Linked DNA regions of Homo sapiens: all the other regions are linked to region 3. Evidence: promoter capture Hi-C in human tissues and cell types (Jung and others, 2019). All regions are on one chromosome and are shown on one strand. The core of a region is centred on a gene start or on the middle of the fragment in contact, and the rest is flanking DNA. Distances in the headings are between cores, read along the strand shown.

What was found. The method cuts DNA at HindIII sites, captures the fragments that hold promoters and counts their contacts. A contact is called where the count stands out against the background at its distance.
Region 1: a fragment that was not itself captured here is called in contact with the fragment with the promoter of OSBPL5 in region 3 in 1 of the 25 tissues and cell types used here (mesenchymal stem cells).
Region 2: a contact is called between a fragment that was not itself captured here and the fragment with the promoter of OSBPL5 in region 3, in 3 of the 25 tissues and cell types used here (adrenal gland, liver and mesendoderm cells).

Annotation. Positions count from the first base shown.
Region 1 is chr11:3,370,487-3,374,858 of GRCh38, forward strand. ZNF195 (zinc finger protein 195) reads right to left here. Exons shown (of 6, transcript NM_001130520.3): 2 at 1,091-1,217; 3 at 489-584. Among named protein-coding and RNA genes, the nearest start is that of ZNF195, 6.5 kb to the right of the region's middle. The HindIII fragment of the contact is 4,685 bases long and covers 146-4,372 here.
Region 2 is chr11:2,953,230-2,957,606 of GRCh38, forward strand. NAP1L4 (nucleosome assembly protein 1 like 4) reads right to left here. Exons shown (of 16, transcript NM_005969.4): 11 at 2,515-2,537; 12 at 1,298-1,417. Among named protein-coding and RNA genes, the nearest start is that of SNORA54, 8.5 kb to the right of the region's middle. The HindIII fragment of the contact is 6,881 bases long and covers 1-4,377 here.
Region 3 is chr11:3,162,566-3,166,895 of GRCh38, forward strand. OSBPL5 (oxysterol binding protein like 5) reads right to left here and starts at 2,745. Exons shown (of 22, transcript NM_020896.4): 1 at 2,651-2,745. RefSeq lists enhancers at 790-1,483, 3,227-3,939. The HindIII fragment of the contact is 28,319 bases long and covers 1-4,330 here.

The DNA of each region.
Region 1 (4,372 bases), core at 1,238-3,737, 210 kb after region 3:
TCCCATTTGAAACCTCTGTAGGATACGAAATCATAAAGCAGAAAGCATACAACATCTGTTTACGGGACTTCTGGGATTTCTGAACCAATCACCATCACCACGCCTCTCGCACACTTCAGACATGATGCAAAGGAAATCAAAAAACATTTAACAGAGTTCCTCAAAAACAGGCAGGTACAGGCATGTTCCCAAAAGCAGTGGCGGAGCACGCCATGAGACCACACAGGCCCTTACTCGTCAGGAGGAGGACTCTGATTTTTACTGTAACCTTTATAAAGGAAGATCACTAAACAGGAAGCAGAGTCTATACAAAATTTGAGAGAATGAGACAGAAGACGCTCCTAGGGTACAGCAAGAGAAAGACACCCAGGCTCTCAGAAACCATCTCCACTAGGGCAGAGCTTCTCAAACCACATTTTAAGGTCTGGCTTCCTCCTCGACCTCTGGACCTCTCACCTGGGTTACCTGCTTCGTTCATTCCCACCCACCTGGATGTCCGTCTGCTGCCTCCTGTCTCTTCACATTCCAGGGCTCTTTTCGTTGCTCCAGGCAGGTGATCAGGCCTGGCTTACAGACAGTGAGACCTGTTTTATTAGAAAAAAGTGACATTACTCTTGCTGAAATTCTCCAATTATCAACCTTGTACTGTGCTTAGTAGAGTGAACATTATATAAGATTCTAGAAAATTAATCCCAAAATTATGCTTCCTGACATCACCTTTAGAATATTCAGTAAGTATTTTAAATCTGTGGGTTCTTAGTTTCACCACTCAGTACTGCTGACATAAAAAATTGGTGGTGGAAATTTGACTTTAAGTTGTGGGCAACAATATTTCATGCCACTGAATTTCTGGAATTGTCACTAGAGTGAAAGATACAGATCAGCTGAAAAAAAAGGAAGGTTTATGTCAAGATGAACCACATTTTGAAGATTTTTTTTTTTTTTACATCAACTATTCCCCATGTTTTTCTTAAAAGCAGGGATCTGAAACTCATTCATGCAACGCAGAAACTCCCAAAAAACATTCCGCAGAGGAACGAAAGGAACTCTTTAGGGCATAGGAGGAACTACGTATTGAAGTTATCCTCACCAACGGAGAACAAGTTTCTGTAGTTCTCCAACATCACATCCCTGTACAAATTCTGCTGAGCGAGGTCCAGGCATTTCCACTCCTCCAGGGAGAATTCTATGGCCACATCCCTGAACGTCAACAGAGTCTGAAGAAGAAACAACAACAATAACAAATACTTGATTCGAGGTGAAATGAGCGAGTGAAGAGAACTGGTTCTGACTTACACAAGTGACTGAAATTATACAATAAGGTAATTCTTAGCAGAAGAATACTCTCTAACTCTGAGGAAAGAGAATTGCCTGAGAGCCACATAAGCAGTGTATATACAATACTTTTCTGGTTGATAACAAGTATAACATTAAGGGCATCAACAAAGGCATGTCCATTTTTGAGTGCTACATTTACGTCACATGAATAAGCTGTGTATATTTCGCAGGCAGAAAAGTCATGGTGAGTTAGAAGCTGCCTCTCCAATTTTCATGTGTCCAATAAACTAGTGTGCAGATTTTGCTTCAGGAAATCGGAGGTCAAGGCTGAGTTTCCGAATTTCTAACGCGCTCACCAGTGATGCCAGTCCTTTGGGCCCAAGGACAATATTTTGTCAAAAATCCTGTAAGTGGCAAGCTTGGGTTTATCCCAGTTTTTCTAAACCATAAAGAGAGATGAGATTCTTCATCTTCTAAAGCAAGGCATATGCAAAAAGAATCTAAGAAGCAAAACCTTTCAGATTAAATGTGATTATTTATGCACATTAATTAGTAAATCTCCTCAAGGTACTTAAAAGAGAAAAAAATAAACTCCACAATGGAAAATCTGTCAGGGAGCTCTTTAAACAACTGAATAAAACTAATATCAACTGTAATAGGACAGATTTTTATCACGTGCCAATGCACAGAGAAGGACATATTACTGGTGTGATATTGGCCAAAAGGTCAATTATAATCTGAATCAAATCATACCGAAACCTTAGTGTTATGCAAAGTTCAAGAGACAAATAAATATCTCCCAGGTTCTGACAAATATCTCCCAGGTTCTGACAAATATTTCCCAGGTCCTGACAAATATCTCCCAGGTTCTGACAAATAAATATCTCCCAGGTTCTGACAAATAAATATCTCCTATGTTCTGACAAATATCTCCCAGGTTCTGACAAATATCTCCCAGGTTCTGTAATCTGTTTTCTTTTGTCTTGAGACTGAGTCTCACTCTGTAGCCCAGGCTGGAGTGCAGTGGCGCGATCTCGGCTCACTGCTACCTCTGCCTCCCTGGTTCAGGCAATTCTCGTCCCTCAGCCTCCGGAGTAGATGGAACTACCCACATGTGCCACCACGCTTGGATAATTTTTGTATTTTTTTAGTAGAGATGGGGTTTCACCATGTTGGTCAGGCTGGTCTCGAACTCCTGGCCCCAAGCGATCTGCCCACCTAGGCCTCCCAAAGTGTTGGGATTATAGGCATGAGCCACCATGCCCAGCAGTAATCTCTAATAGTGTATTAAAAGAGTCTTTCTTTAGCATTCTAAAAAGCAAGTGTCTTTTCATTTTTCTCTTTTCCAGAATGCTTTGAGTTATTCTGAGAGATAAATGTCATCTGGTTTAAATGTTTATTTTCTTAGTCCTGTTCTGCATGCAGCTTATGGAGCATCCAGATGAAACCTAAAGAGTGCACATTTCCCTTCTTTGCTGATATCCAAAAACCCACCCCATCCTCAAGAGGAATCCTGGGTATCCACAAGTTCAGTGCCACGAAGTGAACTTTTTAATACTGCAGGTCATAAAGTCATGGTAAGAATTCTTCATGGCATATAAGAAGTCAAGGTGAAGATAACAGAGAGACGGCTTTGGTATATAGAAAACAAATATTTTCAGAGACCCTTCATTATTATAAGAAAAAAAAGTAGTTGAAACAAACTTACTATGGAGAAACACCACAAGTAGAGAAGTAAAGGTTTCCAAATTCTAAACACATGACATTTCAGGAGCAAAAGTGGACACAACCCCTGACCTGAGATGCATTTACCTGAGCACCAGCCATTTCTTTCTCTTTCTCCTGCTTCTCTGGGATTTCCTCTTAGGAAAGATTCTCTGGACAAATCACACCTGCATCGTGAGAATATGCCTTTAAAGGTGTTAGCACAACCCCTTCACCTGCTACCACCACAACCATCAACAGAAAGACCAAGAAATACAGAAAAAGTCCACGCTTTTCTGTTCTTTATAAAAGAGATTCAGGAACAGTAAACTTCTACATGGAGATCAAAATGTGACTTTCTCTCTTCCTGCTCTCAGGTTCCCTCTCCTGCTAAACAACAGCAATTCTGCTTCAGCAATTGGAGTATAAGCTGCACTGAGCTGGCCTCTGAAACCTAGGCAAAGAAGGCCCTGTGACCTCCCTTTGGAACCAAGGCTGAGCTCAACTCGTACAAATGCATCTGAAACCCCCCATCACTGATTCTGGCCACACCTTAGAATCCCATGATGCATGTGACTTAAACAGCACTGGTGCTTCCACCCAAACCAATAGGCAGAATCTGTGAGGGCAAAGGTGAGGGCCTTTTTTTGAGTTGTCCATGTGATTTAATTAGAAGCCAGGCTGAGAACCATTTAGCTAAGCCTTGCTTCTCAAGCTTCAATGTGCATATGAATCTTTTGGTAATTTTGGCCCCACTCTAAGTCATGTGATTCTGAAGATTTCAAAGGGGTTCATGGGTTGGATTTTTTAACAGTTCTGCCATTAATGGTGATGCTGCTCCCCCAAGACTTGTGATCATTAACACTCAGCTAAAGAAAGCAGCCCCAGCACAGTCCCTTACACCCAACCCTCTGACCACAACATAAGTTCTTCTGGTGCAAATGGAGACAGCCAATCTCTATTCTGAAAGATTACATTATTTCCTGGCTCTTTAAAGTTTTCCAGGGCTGGAGAAGGAAGCAATGTCTGAGTCTGTCTGCATTTGGAAAACAATGTGTACACACGTATGAATGCAGTGTTTATTAAGCAGGCACGGGGTGCTCGGATGTATGTGACAGCACTGTGCTGGGCACCTCACGTCATGTGAGTTAATCCTCACCACACCCTGGGTGATGGAACCAAGTGTCCTGCAACTCTCAAGATATAGATGAAGGGACCAGGCTTTGTGGTTCCTCTTCTATTTTCCTATCATTAACGTTTTAAAAGTGTAGTGATAAAAGCTCCAGATAGACCAATGGAAGGGATACAGAGGGGATGAAGTGTAGTGCAAAGGCACTTTCCATTGTTGTGTTTATCTTCACTTTCTTGTGGCTTGTGAAGCAACTATTAG
Region 2 (4,377 bases), core at 1,158-3,657, 210 kb before region 3:
CACAGTGCTCACCAGCAGTACAGATACCGCATATAAGTAAGCAAATAGCACACATGCATATTCAAGTCCTTTAAACTGACGGGTGTATGATCAAAACAGTTTCAGATAAGCTTTCCAATGTGTAGCCACTAGCCCTTAGCTCACTATTTAAATTTAAACTAAGGTAAATGAAATGTTCAGTTCTTCAGTCTCAGCAGCCATATTTCAAGTCCTCAAGTGGTCAGTCCTACTGCACTGGACCAAGCAGGCAGAGGACAGTTCCATCAACAGAGAAAGTTCTACTGGAAAGTGCTGGTCTAGAATTTGTAAAACTATGTCTTGGCAGCTACCTGACTGTCCATGTTCCCTGACCTGCAATCACCTCCCAACCTAGGGATGAGCCAGCAAGTTGAGTTTTAGAAGTTAAATGAACAGTCTAAGACCTAACAGCTGATAAAGAGCACGCTGGCCTATTCTCCCCACTGGTGGAACTCAGTACAATGGGAGAGGTGTGAGGAGATGTTGGCCTTTACTGCCACAGGGGGCTAAGGCCCTTGAACCCACCTAAGCTCTTGCCGCCCTGTCTGAAGCCCCAACAGACCAGACCTTCTAAGAAAAGAAACCTAAGAGCTCCACAAGAAAGAGAGTATCATCTAGAACATACTTCCAGTAACAGTCTATAAAACAAAACTTTATTTTCCACAGATCAAGAAGACTTGAAGCTGCTTGAGCCTTGGTGAGGATGGGAGTTTCTAAGCGGTACTTGGGCTGTGCACCCGCAAGTTCTGACTGTGGAAGAGCTGGCTTCCCTCAAGCCCAGAAAGGAAAGTGACATGCAATCTTGTTGTTTTCTTCGGGAGCACGGGTTTCTTTTTTTTCCTTTTTACCTAATTAGATAGAAGTTCAGGAATTTCTATTTCTTTTGGGTTGATGAACCACAGGCTAGCATAAGTCCACTGTCAATAAATGTTTGTTGTGGCCAGACCTCCATAAAAGAGATATTCCCTGTGTTCACAAGTTCCCTGAAGCTTAGGTTTTGAGAGAATATTGTTGAGTCACTAGGCAGGGCTCACATAGGAAACTGGCAATCACCTCTGAAACTGCTTCACAGACACCTGCTTTTCCTGCTCTGTTCCTCAGACTTCTCCTCTTCAAGCGTATTCCCCCCACAACAAGGACAGCAGCTTGGACTACATATCTGGCTGATGATGTAATAAAAAGATTAGGCATGGGGGTTTCCTAAGCCACAATTCAGGGCCACTCTGCACCAACAGAGATAAGCACCCAGGTGGAAGCCCCCCTTCCCCGAGCCTCATACATTGTCATCATCTTCTATGGCCTCCCCAGTGAAGTACAGCACAGCCCGCGGGACTATCCGCTCACGGAAAAAGTGTCCAATTTCAAAATCAGAGGCTAATGTGAATTCAGAATCTTCATCCTGAGGAGGAAAAACCTACGTGTTAACTCATTTTAATGGGATAAAAACATTCACTTCACCACCCTCAGCCAAACCTCAGCCCCTCACTTTTGATTTACTTAACTTAAAACACCAAACTCCTGCACTGCTGGGGGACAGCCACTAGACACTCAAAGCCCCTTTAAAACAACTTTAAGTAGCTTTAAAGAGCTACTGAAGCAAAATGGCAGAGAAAGTGGGAAGTGAGGGCCCTACAGCTCCACAACTTGTCCAAAGGTCTCACCCAGAGTAGGCGGTATCAGTCTCACATATGGGAAACAGGCAGTATTAAAGCACTGCACATTTGCTACTGAAATCAACATATGAAACACATACTTTTACTTAGATGTGTAATGATTTCAAATTAATCCCAGAGTTTTAGGAAACAGAAATGGATTTTTTTTTTTTAAGAGACAGGGTCTTATTCTATCACCCAGGTTGGAGGGCAGTGGTGCAATCACAGCTCACTCCAGCCTCAAGCTCCTGGGCCCCAGCGACCCTGGAACTACACAGTGCACCACCATGTCCAGCTAATTTATTATTTTATCTTTTGAGACGGAGTCTTGCTCTGTCGCCCAATGGAATACGGTGGTGCAATCTCAGCTCACTGCAACCTCCTCCTCTCGGGTTCAAGTGATTCTCCTGCTTGAGCCTCCTGAGTAGCTGAGATTACAGGCGCTGCCACCGTGTCCAACTAATTTTTTTTTTTTTTGGTATTTTAAGCAGAAACGGGGTTTCACCATGTTGACCAGACTGGTCTTGAACTCCTGACCTCTGGTGATCCACCCACCTTGGCCTCCCACAGTGCTGGTATTACGGGCGTGAACCACCATGTTCGGCTGGCTAATTTATTTGGTTTTAATTTTTTGTGGAGATGGGGTTGTGCTATGTTGCCCAGGCTGGTCTCAAACTCCTGGACTCGTGCAGTCCTCCCACCTCAGCCTCCCAAAGCATTAAGATCACTGGCATACCCAGTCCACACACAGCCAGGACTGGACTTTTTTTAACAAGTAGACAAGTAGACATTCACTCAGGAGAGACTTCAACAGGAAAATAAGACTATTAACAACAAATCTTACCAGTGATTCTCCATCCCCGGATGCTAGAAAAAGAAAAGACAAAACATATTTAAATTACAGTGACAACTCCCAGAATTTTAAAGCCCACACAGGAGGAAGCTGTGCTGGTAGATAAAATGTAACATTTCTCACCTCGAGGTTTAACAGAAATCCCCAAAGCCTTGCATCTCCTCACAGACATCTTTGCAAGCTCCATCCACCACTTCTGAAGCTGGCCTGAGTGCCTCTATGCCCCCCTCCCTTCTCCTCCTCCATCATGTGCCATGGGCTGGCACTCAAGCTTGAGAAGATCATTTTGAGAGAGTTAATATATTAACAGGAGGAATGGCAAACAGCCCCCAGGCTGTGGCCATTCAGTGCATTTGTGCTTTATGGGGAAACTTAACTCATGTCCCGCAGAACTATACATGATGGTGCAGGAAAGAGAAAGTCCTTAAGCCTTATAAGCTGTGAGTGTTACTAAGGCACTGCAAATCAGCGAGACAGAAACTGCATTTCTGTTTGTTTGGAGAGTGCTGGAATGCCCACCAGGGGCCCCTGTAGAGTGGCGCAATTCCTCAGCGAAAGCTGATGCTCAGACGAGCTAAGCCCACCAAGACAGATAGGGACTTCTAACCACACTCAATGAAGCTGTGCAACGTTCAACTGGTAGAAGATCCAACCCCCTGATTTTAGAAACATTTACTACAAGACCCTGAGCTTCATCAGGAGTTGAATGTTTACTCTGCTTAGTCTCATACCTGCCTTTTCAATCTTCACTGGGCTCTCCTCTCTGAGTCTCCCTTCCCATTAAGCGACCACAACCCTGGCAGCACTTGCTGTTTGCTGCTGAGACATGAATGTTGGGTGCGTAAACACCACCCATGAGTGAGGCAGAGTTCCCAAGCCTCGGTGTGCCAGCATCACCCAGGGGTTTTAGACATGGGTTAGGAGCATGGCTGGGTGTCTAAATGCTGGAGCAGCATGCTCCCCAGGGCACTCTGGCCCAAGTCATGAATAGTACAAGGACTCTGAACACTCATACTTCTGGACTGGCTTTGCAGTTTTAAGGACAAAGGAGCTGGACTCACTAGCTAATGCCTCCTTCACTTCACACCACAGGAGTCCATTTTGTCTGTTCCTTCACTACCCCATTACCTATTCCGCAGCCATCCTCAATTTTTTTCAAAGCACTTACCATTTGGTATTATGTGTTTGATTACTTTAAAAGTGGCTTTACTGATGGGATTTACATACCATTAAAAGGCATACACTCTAAATGTACAACTTTATGACTTTCAGTACGTTAATTTTAGAGTTGTGCAACCATCATACCCTAAAAGTTTTAGAATCTAAAAAAAAAAACACTTAAAAATTCCCTTGAGTCCATTATCAACTCCATTTTTATCCTAAAAATTATTTTTAAATCAGTTTTAAGAGAACTTCCTACACAAAGTGATTCCAGAAATTAAAGCCTCCCTTCTTCACGCTGAATTCACAGACAATCTCCAGTATGCCCAACCCAAGTGTCTAAAAGGAATCTTCCAAAAAAAGGAAATGTAATATCTAAATTTATGACTGCTCTCATTCCCCAAACCGTATGTATTTGCATCTTCTAGGTTCAAAGTCTAATTGCAGAAAATAGGCACCACAATTAAAATAATGGACTGAACTCTGAAGGGCAGCTTGATAAATAAGGGTGCTAAGCTCAGAGACAAAATCAAAAAATCAATCACTCAGACTGGAGAAGAGATCCGCCCTGTGGCCCCACATACAAACAAACACTCACTGATTATCTGCAGCAGGGGCTGGCATCTCTTCACTTCAAATTATGTTTTAGTTCATGGAAACTAAAGAGAATATGGATATTTTAACACTGACAAG
Region 3 (4,330 bases), core at 1,495-3,994:
GTCCAAGTCCTTTGTACTCGACCGCCAACCCTACCACTCTCCGGAGCAGCTTCACTATCTGCCCATACATCTCCACGGGAAAGGTTACCCAGCCGTGGCCAAGACCCAGCCACCAAGGCCCCAAAACCTTTAAAAATCTTGACCAGCCCAGGAGCCCCATCCTCAGGCTGTCAGTTGCCTCCTCAAGCTGCAGGCTCGGTAAGTCATCAAGCAAAGCTGGCATCGAGAACAATATTCTTTTCCTTTGTGCCGGTCACAAGCAGCATGAGGACATCCAGGGCAGCATGCCTGTCCCTGTCGGGAGGCCAGTGGCCCTCACTTGTACCCCCCAACATCTACCCCCCAGCACACTGGTGCACTCCCTGGGCTCCCCTGCCAACCCTGCAAGTGGTGGGCACTTCTACCCACCTGGCCCTTGGACTCCACAAGGGGAGCTGCACCTAACGGCTCCCTCCCCGACAGCTCCCTTCCTGTCAAAATGACCGGGATCCTTTTGGCACTGTGCAACCCTGGGCCTCGGCCCCTCTACAACCCCCTGTCCCGGAGGTCAGAGCTTCCAGCTCCCCAGGCCTCTCCGGGAGAACCCTGAGCTGGGTCCACAACATTTCTCAGCTGCGGTCACAGGCTCAGATTCACCTGTCCCTTGAACAATAAATGGGAATGGGGGCGGGGGGCACCTTCTGTCATCTTGGGTAAGTTTTCCACCTGCACACTGTGCCTGTATGTGTGCAAACGTGTGCAGGCTTAACCACAGAATCAGCAGAGAGCACCAGTCCCCAAAACACAGCTGGCAGAGACACACACAGCCCTTCCACCCGCCGGCTTGTCACAGAGTGTTTCTCCCTCCCCCAAGCGTTACATGTCAGATTACTATCAGCGCTCAGAGTGAGGCCAGGATCTCAGGAGAGAAACTGATACCAGGCATTCTCAGCATAGTAAATACAATCCTGGGTAGGGGTTGGGTGGGGGGGGCGGTCTTGCGTTGGTATTCTGTAAAGAGCTGAAAGCAGTCCTTTGAAGAACATGGCCTATTCATGGCCCAATCTGGACCCAGAAAGGAGCCTCCACTGGACATGCAGGATGGCTGCCCGGGGTTCGACATCTGCAGGGCAGCCTCTCTGAGACCAGGCCCAGGACTGCAGGTCAGAGGCTCCTCATCCGGCCTATCTGCTGTGTCACCTTTCTTAAACACAGCCTGGCAAGACAGACACACGCGGTGCCTGCCTCCTGGCACCCCAGGCCAGCCCCACACGCGTGCAGGCAGACAATAGGATCTGCAGTTCTGGAGCCTGAGACCAGAAGGGAGCAGCTGGGCACATGATGCCACCCCAGGTTGCCACAAACCTGCCCGATGCCTGCAAAGCCCCCACTCACCTGGCAGGTTCAAGGAACAGCAAGGCCCTGTGTACCAAGGAGGTGGGATAAAAACGTGCAGAGGGGCCTTACTCCTGGGGTTGGGGAGCAGAGTTTCTGTTCAGTCTGGGATCTGGATCAGCCCTGGTGCAGGCAGACCCAAGAGCATCTATCTAGGATCCCAAAGGCTGGCCCACTTCTCCAGGCTTTGGGAGGCTGTATCAGGTGGGGTGGGACCCTTACAGAAGTCTTCCTGTAAAAGGCACCTTGAAGAGACTGGGGCAGACACACAGAGGGGAGCAAGTTGCGAAACGGCAAGAGAGGAAATCCACCCAGCCGCTTCGGCGGGGCAGACCCGCTCAGCCCAAGGATGAGGGAGGGGCTGGGCTCAGCCCAGGGACGAGGGAGGGGCAGGTAAGCCCACCCTGTGACCCCTCCATACCCCCAGGAGTCACCCCAAACCCTAACTCCAGTTGGCTTCTGACAGGAGGCAGCCCAGCGGTCTGGGTGGGGGTTGGGGGCGGTGCCTGGGAAGCCCAGGACGGGCCTGTTGCCCGGGGGGCTGCAGACTCCAGCCTCCTTCCTGCCTGCCCCACCCTCCTGCACCCCGCTCCCCGGGAGGAATCTTCAAGTGCACAAGACCCTCTTGAGGACTCAGGCACCTCAACAATCCCTAAGGCTCCACATCTTCAGGGGGTCAGTGCCCCAGAGATGGGGGCTGTGGGCAAGGTCCTTCCCTAGCCTGTAATCCAGGCAGCCCCCTGACTCTGCGGACTCAGACACAGCAGTCCTCCCAAGCCCGCAGCTGGGACGCCAGACTCAGATCCCAGACCCCCTGCAGACCCATCAAGACCTGGCTCCTTGGAGCCCGCGTCGGCCGAGCTGGGGGGACAGACCCCCTGATTGGCCAGGGTTTGTGGTGGTCAGACCCAGCCACCTTCCCTGGCGGTCCCGGCTCCTTTAAGCCCCACCAAGTGGGGAGCCGAGCTGGGCGCGCCGCTTCCCACTCGCGGGCCCCACCCGCCCCAACCCGCCAGGCGCCGACCCGTCCTGGCCCGGGGCGCCCCCAGGCTCCCGCGCTCCCCAGCTCCCCAGCGCGCGACCGGCCCCGCGGCGTGGTTCCCCGCACTGGCTACTGCCAGGGTCCGCGGGGCTGCGGCGCGAGCTCCTGGATCCCTTCGGCCGGCCCCCCGCGGCCCTCGGTTCGCTCCGGCCCTGCCCGGCGGGGCCCTCCGGATCCTTCCCAGCCCGCCATCCCCCCGCCGCCCTGCCGCCCCCCGGGCCGCCGCGCTCCTACCTCCTACCGTGCCGCGAGCTCGGTGCTCCGGGCCGGCCGGGCGCGCGGGGGCTCCACTGGCGGCGCGGGCCTGGCTGCAGGAAATGCCAGCAGATGGTCCCCCCGCGCGAGGCGGAGCGAGGGCGCGGCGGAGGGAGGAGGCCCAGGGAGCCCGGAGGCGGGAGGAGGAGGCGCGGCGGCCGCAAAACCCGGGCCGAATCGCCGCGCGGAGCGGGCGCCCAGGGGCTGCCCCCCACCGGCTGCCGCTTCTCCTCATCCCCCAACCCCCCGCGCGCGCTCCGGGGCTCACACCCACCCGGGCGGCCAGAGGTCGGGACACTCCGCTGAAAATGGCCAGGAGGCTTGGCGGGGTGGGCAGCGGTGAGTGGGGTCAGCTTCGTGGGGTTCTCCAACTTAGGGGTGCAGGCCCCCAGCCCACCCTAGCCAGGGTGCGAGGCGCCTCCTCTCCCTTCCTGAACCCAGGAAACTGTCGCCGTTTCTCCCCGTCTCAGGAGCCATCAGAACACAAGAGGAGCCCCAGACATCTGAGCCCGTTGTCCCTGCCCCTTATGTGCTAAGAAGGACCCTCAGTCACACTCTAACTGTACGTCTTTCTCAGGACCCTTTTGACAAGAACCTCCCCTCATGTGCATTTCTTCCTGTGTTTTCTCCTCACCTTCTTCTACCCCCCAGAGACCTTTTTAGACCCCTCAGTTCTCTTGTATATAAAAGACATTCTAATTCCCCTAAACAGCATCCCCTTGGGAGCTGAGAAGTCCTCCCCTGGCCCCTGGCTCCCTGCCTGTAGACCCTAAATTGGGTGTGGGCCCAGGGCTGGCCCCAGGGCGTTTGCATCCCTAGTGTCCAAGCCTGAGGTGCACTGCAGGTCCTTCCTATGGTATGTCCCCAAATGACCAGAAAAACTGGGAGCTGGGCTCGGGCATCCCCAGATGTAGGTAGACCCCAAGAGGGCGTGGAGTCTTTTCCACACAGAACCTTAACAGGGACAGAACTGACCCTCCGCAGAGAGCCCTGGGCTCCTCCCCAGGCAGAACTGCCACTGACACGTGTGTTTCTACGGTTTCACGCTGCAGTTGCATTCGGGAGGCCGCAAGCCTGGCTATCATGGGCGTCTGCAAGACCTCCCAGCAGGGCTGCGGAGGGCGAGCGGCCCAGGAAGGCTCCTTCCAGCACCTGAAGGGGGAACGGCACAGCATGCAGGTGCTCTGCCCACAACAAGCCAGACCCCTTCCCGTCTCAGCCCTGGCCTTGCCCACCCCGTTAGACAAGTTGGTGGGTATCCTCCTGGGGATAGCAGCACCAGCCGCTTGTGTGCGGATCACAGGAACCCACGGCTTACGGAGGCGAGTGGGCTGATCGGACTTGCCCTAAGCTTACCCCCAGGGCTAGCATTGCCATTCCATAGTCACCTTGTGAGGCCTTGGGATGCAGAACTGCTCAGTCAAGATGCTCAGGGCCATGGTGGGACCCTGCTCCGCGTGGCCTGTGGCAGGCGGCCTCTGCCTCTGCAGGAGAGGGTCTGTGCAGCTGGGATCCACATACAACTGCTGGGTCTGCTCTTTGAAGACTCCGCCCAAAGCTGAGGTGCTGCTGCCTGGTAACTTGCTGGTTGCTGGAGCCAATCCAAAGGGAATTAGGGAAGAAAACAAAGCCCCTATCCCTAGGGCGGAGGTCTCAGGG